2 separate regions of the Homo sapiens genome follow, and region 2 is linked to region 1. Evidence: promoter capture Hi-C in human tissues and cell types (Jung and others, 2019). All regions are on one chromosome and are shown on one strand. The core of a region is centred on a gene start or on the middle of the fragment in contact, and the rest is flanking DNA. Distances in the headings are between cores, read along the strand shown.

Region 1 (3,852 bases), core at 1,153-3,652:
CAATACCAAAATGTTTCTTAAAATGTTAGACCACACCCACCCACCTCCACACTTCACCTAGCAGAAAATCCAGGTCATCTGTAGAAGTTGAAAAGCAACACAAAAAAGCTCATGCACCTTCATCTAATCCTCCAACCCTGGGCAAGGTAAAAGCTCTTTCCAGAGCATTGCATCCCAGTTTTTGGAACCGTACCTGCTCCCAACCCCAGGTGTGACCCTGTAGCAGGTAGGCAAAATTACTGTGACAATCTCACAATCCATCAGCTACAGAGCAAAGGATCCTCTGAGGAGAAGTTAGGATTGCTGAGAAAGCACAGGCTGCTGAGCATTCCTCTCCTGCCAGACATAAACCTGATGCAAGACAGAATTATGAGAAACCAGATTCAGCTCACCCATCCTCCTTCTCAGTCATCTTCCAGGCACAAAAGAAAGACTGAATACCAATCAAAAGATAATATAAATAAACCTTTTAAATAAAGTTTACTAATTGAAAGGACTAATAGATGGAGTGATGCATTCTTCAAAATCTATTGTCATGCTTTTGTGGACTTTATTGCTTATCAGCATTTTTCCCCTCAAGAAAAAAAAACAGAACAGCAACATTTGTTCAGAAAAAAAACAAACCATGTTTCTTCCTTTCTTATTACTTTTATTGTTTGAGGTTTCTTTTAGACTATAATGTGGCATTGTGATTTTAAGATGGGAAAAAAAAATCTCTTGTCTTTCAAACATAGGAATGTGATTGTATGCTATTGTTGCCAACAATGAGCTAAAGAGGTTAATGGATCACATATCTGGCAAACAGCCATCTTTCCTCCTGCTCAATATATTACACAGTATACATTTTATTGTTGCTGCTGAGCATATGATTTTGTCTGAGTAGTTGGTAAATAAGTTTAGACTTAACTGGTCTCTTTCTAAAACTCAACAGCTTTGTCATTCAGGCTATATCCTGAGATTTAAAAAGTGCAGTTTCGGTTCTTAGCTCATGACCTTTTGAGGTGATGGTAAGAGTGGTGGGAGGAAGGAGGTGGGGCGGGCTGTTGAATGAGAATCTAGAAATATTGTGCCTTGTAAATTGCATCCGACCTTTCATTTTCAGATTGCCTAAATTAACAGAGTGAAATTACCATAATAAAAAGGAATGGGTACTGGAGAAAGTACAGCAATTCTTTCTAGTGTTGTTTCCCAGATTCCTTCCAAAATACCTCTAATTAAATGGACCAACTCTCTCCACTGACCTCAGGTTGACACAAATTTGCATTCTGCGACTGTCATTTGAAAACAGACAAGCCGTCATAAGCAATAATGCTGTGATTTCTTGCCTAAAGGACTTTTCTGTGTACTGCATTTGTACTATGAAATGTAAGCAAGAGACTTAATGCCTCTACAGATAAAAAGGGAGGAAAGATTTTCATTTTTAGGGAACCCCAGAGGGAAAAAGTTTATCAATGAGAAATACAATGTTCTGGATAATTTTGGTTGGGTAGGAATGTATGTTGAGGGAGGGGACTAGAGTTGGGAGAGAGGAAGCAACACATCAGTCTCCTTGGAGCAGTAGAGTCCTTTCAGTCCGGTAAAGAGCACAGTAAGTAGCAGGTAGAATCAGCTCCTGGCCTGTTGTTTTGCTGGGGGCAAAGGGTTGGAGGAACACAGACTAAATTGGGAAGGCTAGTGTGCCTCTCGGCTTTTGGACTTGGGACCTGAAAGAAGGCTGAGTCCTGAGCTCCGCTTCCCAGCTAGGCGGTGATCGCCCCCTGTGACTCCGGATGCACACAGCAGCCCCAAGCACGCCGCGGCCGCCGCCCGACCCTTCACCGCCTCCGGCTCTCCCGCCTGGCACTCTGGAGCCACACACACCAGCTTCCTGGACACCTGTGTGCCCCAAGCTCTGGGTCTAGGCATCCCCCTCACCCCAGAGAGACCGGTCTCAGCGCCTCAGCAATTGGGTCCCTCCGACCTCTGTGTCCCCGAGTTCTGCCACCCTGGTCACCTCCGCAGGTTCCCCAAGCTGCGACCTCAGTCCAACTGGGAGCCCTGCGCGCCCACCCGGCAGCCCCACTGCGCTGCTCGCCCGCGGTTCCAGCGCCTGGGTGGGACGCGCAGTGGCTCAGCTGCGGGACCTCCGCCTCCGGGTAAATCCTCCTCCTCCCCTTTCTCCGCCTAAGGCCCTGCCCTCCCCCTGCAGCAAGCCGCTCCGGTGCGTGCGCCCGTCTCTCCGCCGAAGACACCTGCGCTTCCTTCCCCACCCTCCTCCTCCTCCCTTTCGCTGCGGTTTCTCCGCTGCCTTTGGGAGCTCGGGAGCGGCAGCTGGAGGAGGAGCACGGGGAGGAGGGGAAGGCGAGGAGGAGTAGGGGCGGGGTGGGTGGGGAGAGAGCCGGGAGGGTGTGGACTGGCAGCCACTCTGCAGCTGGTCGCCAGGGACCCGGTCCCTCCTGCGCGCCCAAGTGATGGAGGGGAAGAGATTCGCTTAGACACACACACGCGCACACAGCTGGGCACGTCTCCGGGAGGCAGCTGCCGGCTCGGGCGCTCTGGGGGCCGGGCGGCGGCCGTGACAGCGCCAGCCGCGGGGAGCGGGGCGCCCGCACAGCTTGGCACCGGAGGCTCGAGGACGCAGGAAGGGAAGATCCCAGTCACACTGAGTGTTGCTCTTTTGGGCGGATTGGGAGGGAGCGGGCTGCCCGAGGAGCTGTCACCGAGGACGCCCGAAGTCTCGCCCTCTGCGCGCAGGGTCCGGGGCTGCGCCGGTGCCCTCGTGGGGCAAGGAGGATGCGCACCTCCCCCCGCAGAGCGGCTGCGGTCTCCGGCACTGCGCGGACTCCGGCTCCTGCGGCCGCCCGTGCCGTGCCCGCGCCACGGGAGCGCGCCCTGCCGCACCTGGTTCCAGCCTCTCGGGGAAGTGCAGGAAACGCGCCCTAAACTCCACTACTTCTCGCCCGCCTGCCCCCCCGCCCGGCTCCCCGCCTCAGACCTCGCCGCCGCCGCCGCCGCCGCCGCCGCCTGCGTGTGGGGCCCGCTCGCGTCTTACTCACACGCGCCACGCACAGCCCTGTTGGTTTGCTCTCATTCACGCCGACTCGCTCTCCGCCGAGCCTAGCCCGGGCATCCGAAACTACTGGACCAACTGCCGTCCGGACCGCAGCAGCGGCCGGGTGACCCCCACGCGACCCGCCGCCGACCCCCGCGCCCTGAGGCTCCCGCCCGCGCCGCCACCGCCGGGGACCACGGTGAGCAAGGCGCGCTGCCCGCCTCGCGCGGGGGAGGGGCTTTGAGACCTCTAGATTTGGGGGGAAATGAGAAGGGGCAAATCGCCAAAGGGAAGCATCCGGGTGATGCCAGCAAAAAAGCACTTTGTGGGGTTCGGTTCTCCTGGGCGCTGCCTGGGGAAGACTTTTGAGAGGTTTGCTTAGGACCAGAGGTTAAACTAGTGCGAGATGAGAAACGGCGGGGGCAATTCCTGGGGTAAAATTAGACAGAAGGTGTCAGTCAGCCTGCCTGTCTGTTTCTCTCTCAGTCTCTCCCAGAGCGCTGGGTAGCGCTCTCTTTGAGGGAGAAAGGGAACACGCGTTTACTGCGCTCGCCAGAGTTTAGGGGTTCGCGTTCGGTCACTTCTGGGGTGGCTGTGGAGCTGTTTGGAGCGCGAGGGCAGCTTTGGGACAGTGGGGGCCTGCGAGGCCCCAGCAGAGGACAGGCAGAGGGCAGGCAAAGAACAGGCAAAGGCTAAGTTAACATGTGGGTGGGGTTTTCTCTTCCCAGCTGGCCCCCCCCACACCCCTCACAGCCCCACTTTATGCATCTCTTCCCACCCAACACACACGCGCGCGCGCGCGCGGGATGGATGCAGTCGAA
Region 2 (3,840 bases), core at 152-2,651, 54 kb before region 1:
CTGTGATGATTAGAGAATGGGTGTGGGCTCAACTTCTAAATGTGTAAGAAAGAGATGTGTGAGAAAGAATTGAGAATTATACCACTTGGTAGGAAGTCAACGCAATTATATTCGGTGAAAAAACAAAAATCTCTACGCACAAAATAATGATGAACCAAAAGACGCAGTGGACTCTGCAAGACAAGTTAAGTATATTAGTTTATTGTAATTCCATTTGCTGTTTTTAGAGTAGGAACTGGCTATTGAGTGGACTGAAGATGGTGGGGGGCAGAAGAGCAAAATAAAGAAAAAAGACATATGGAAGAATGAAAAGAAGGAAGGAAGGAATTATGAAGTCAGTTTTTTAACTCACAGCCAAGAAAGGCCAGAAGCTCTTACTAGAATTTATAAAGCAAAAAATTAAAATTGTAAATATCTTCTGACAAAGAGAATCTATATGACTTGCTGATATAAGGGAATCAGTTTGTATCTTTATTCAACGAAAAGTTGTATACTCATGTCACAACCTTATTTAAATATATACAGACTTATGAGAATGTGTGTTAAATGAGTTTGCCCAAAGGGGGTTTGGATTATAATCCCAAAAGACACAATCCTAAATGCCATAATCCCAAATGTTGAAATCTCAAAAGATCAAAATTTCTAAAGTCTAAAATCCCCAATGTCTAAAATCTTGAAATTCACAGTCACAGAATAGTTGCATTATGTTAGGTAGAGCTATTAACTTGTTATTGTCTTTATTTGGAAATTAAGTATGGTTTAAGGCAAGGGTGTCCAATCTTTTGGCTTCCCTGGGCCACATTAAAAGAAGAAGAACTGCCTTGGGCCACATATAAAATACACTAACACTAACGACAGCTGATGAGATTTTTTTAAAAATCACAAAAATTCTCATAATGTTTTAAGAAAGCTTATCAATTTGCATTGGGCTACATTCAAAGCCATCCTGGGCCTCATGTGGCCCATGGGCCATAGGTTGGACAAGCTTGGTTTAAGGGGTTATATATGAGTGCTAAATTGACAGTGCGCCAACCTGTGGACTTAATTTTAGGTGTCAAGTTGACTGGATTAAAGAATGCCTAGAAACCTGGTAAAGCATTATTTTGCATGTGTCTGTGAAGGTATTTCCAGAAGAGATTAGGGTGTGAATCTGAGTGGACTAGGCAGGGAAGACCTGCCCTCAAAGTTGGTAGGCATTATTCAATCAGACAGGGACCTGGAGAGAACAAATGCTGAGGGTAAATTGGTCTCTCTCTGATAACTGAAAATACTTTTTACTATTATTATTATTATTATTATTATTATTTTTGAGACAGAGTCCAACTGTGTCACCCACAGGCTGGAGTGCAGTGGCGTGATCTCAGCTCACTGCAACCTCTGCCTCCCAGGTTCAAGTGATTCTCCTGCCTCAGCCTCCCAAGTAGCTGGGACTACAGGCACGTGTCCCCACACCTGGCTAATTTTTGTATTTTTAGTAGAGATGGGGTTTTGCCATGTTGGCTAGGCTGGTCTCAAACTTCTGACCTCAGGTGATCCACCCACCTCAGCCTCCCAAACTGAAAAGACTTTTATTCTGCCGCCTTGGACATCAGAATTCTAGGTTTGCTGACTTTTGGACTCCAGGACCTCCACCAGCTGTTTCTTGGGTCCTGAAGCTTTTGACCTCAGATTGAAACTTACACCAGCTTCCTGGGTTCTGAGGTTACTAGACTTAGACTGAGCCACACTACCAGCATCTCAGGGTCTCCAACTTGTAGACGACCTGTGCTATGACTTCTCAGCCACCATAAAGATGTTAGCCAATTCTTCTAAAAATCCCCTCTTGTGTATCTATATACATATCCTATTGATTGAGTCTCTCTGAAGATCCGTTACTAATACACACTTGGCGTTGAGGAAGCCAAGTATCATTCCTGCTACTGTATTCCTTACAACACAGTGGAAGAGATCTGTGAAATTGTTCCCTCACAAAAAGGCTGTGATAAGTTAAGTGTATGAGGCTTCTTAATAGTGAAAGATAAAAGTTTAAAAGCTAATTATTATTGGTGCTGCAAAAGCTGAAAATCCCTTAATTGCAAAGGCCAAGCAATAATCAGACTTTCAGATGGACTGCATATACTTACAAAATTTGTAGACCACAACCACTGTCCAAATACAGATCACAGAAGTAAAAACACAGATGAAAAATACAAGAAGTCCTCCAAGCCAAATTATCCAATCACATATAACTTCTACCTCTTCACACATAGCGCCAATTTGTTATGCTATGTATTTCATCTTCACATCATATCCCATATTAGAGATCTAAATTGTGTGGAGACTTTTAGAGAGTTCTAATTTGTTTTATGCTGCAAATTTGATTCCATTGAAGTGCATTATCACAATGTTGACTTTATGTATAAGCACTGCACATTTATATAGAAATGTTGAAATTTCCTCACTAAATGAAGAAATGTCCTTTTTGTAGATCTGCATTTGTGAAAGATACAATTTCTTGAGATCTTGACTCTTTGGGTGATTACATTTGTGACAGTATCTCATCATGGTTTTCCAACAGTCTCGCCAAGACAAGATTTATGTTGTCTGTCATTATGTTTCATATGACCAAAGTTATAAAGCTAGACACACGTAATTACCAACTATAGTATATATTTCACTTTTGACCTATTTATATGAATACAACTTGACTGCTTATAACTGTTATACCCATGCAACTGTCATTAGTATGCCAAAGTGTTAATGCTTGCAAAAATATGCATGTTATTATTGCCTATTTTCTTATGTAAAATGGCCTAGGAAGTGTTTTGTTGTGTTTTTATGTTTCTCAAATAAATCTCCTTTTAAAAGTGTAAATACAATTTTTTAAACTTTTTTAGAATTATATTTTCAGTATTTTGATCTTTTGGAATTTCAACACTTGGGACTATGGCATTTGTGTTTGTTTGTTTTGGAATTATGATTAGCTCCCACCTGAAGGACATACTGAGAATCCTCAAATATATGAAGTCTTTTGTTTTTTCGGTAAATTTAAAATTCTTTGTTCACTGAGTAAGTACTTTGTGAAGAACAAATGCTAGATTATTAATTCCTTATGAATATTTTAAATCTCATTATTTAGAAGTTCGGCTAAAATCTTTAATTAGGGTATAAGGTAAAAATGGTACCTGGTAGTAATGTGCGGACTCTAATTTCTAGGATTTGATGGATGCAAAAATTCTTGAGCACAGAATTCCTATAACAGAATAAGAGATTAAATTTTTACTAAAATATTAACTATATTCAAAGTAGAATTGAATAAGGCTTACATGCCTAAAACATACAGCTCCAACTGTTTAGTTCCAGTTGGAAGAATCCTCAAATATATGCAGTATTTTGTTGTTTTGGTAAGTTGAAATTTCTTTGTTCACTGGGTAAGTACTTTGTGAAGAAGAAATGCTAGAATATTAATTCCTTATGAATGTTTTAAATCTCATTATTTAGAAGTTTGGCTAAAATCTTTAATTAGTTTATAAGGTAAAAATGGTATCTGATAGTAATGTTTGGACTCTAATTTCTAGGATTTGATGGTTGCAAAAATTCTTGAGCACAGAATTCCTATAATAGGATAAGAGATTAAATTTTTACTAAAATATTAATTATATTCAAAGTAGAATTGAATAAGGCTTACATGCCTAAAACATGCAGCTCCAACTATATAGCTCTAACTGGAGTCTGTTATATATTTAACTAAAATTTGCTCAAATGAAATTTTAGTTAAATATACAACAAGATTACAATTCATTTATGTAACAATTATTGAGTCACTACTACGTGCCAGGTACAGGTGCTCTAAGCCCTTAA

Evidence for each region. Contacts are between HindIII fragments. The study calls those that stand out against the background at their distance.
Region 2: a contact is called between a fragment that was not itself captured here and the fragment with the promoter of HS3ST5 in region 1, in 1 of the 25 tissues and cell types used here (aorta).

The regions. Positions count from the first base shown.
Region 1 is chr6:114,341,573-114,345,424 of GRCh38, reverse strand. It overlaps HS3ST5 (heparan sulfate-glucosamine 3-sulfotransferase 5), which reads left to right and starts at 2,402. Exons shown (of 5, transcript NM_153612.4): 1 at 2,402-3,230. It overlaps LOC107986638 (a long non-coding RNA gene), which reads right to left and starts at 3,100. Exons shown (of 8, transcript XR_002956366.2): 1 at 3,036-3,100. The HindIII fragment of the contact is 10,455 bases long and covers 1-3,852 here.
Region 2 is chr6:114,394,606-114,398,445 of GRCh38, reverse strand. LOC107986638 (a long non-coding RNA gene) reads right to left here. Exons shown (of 8, transcript XR_002956366.2): 3 at 3,165-3,232. Among named protein-coding and RNA genes, the nearest start is that of HS3ST5, 54 kb to the right of the region's middle. The HindIII fragment of the contact is 3,500 bases long and covers 1-3,151 here.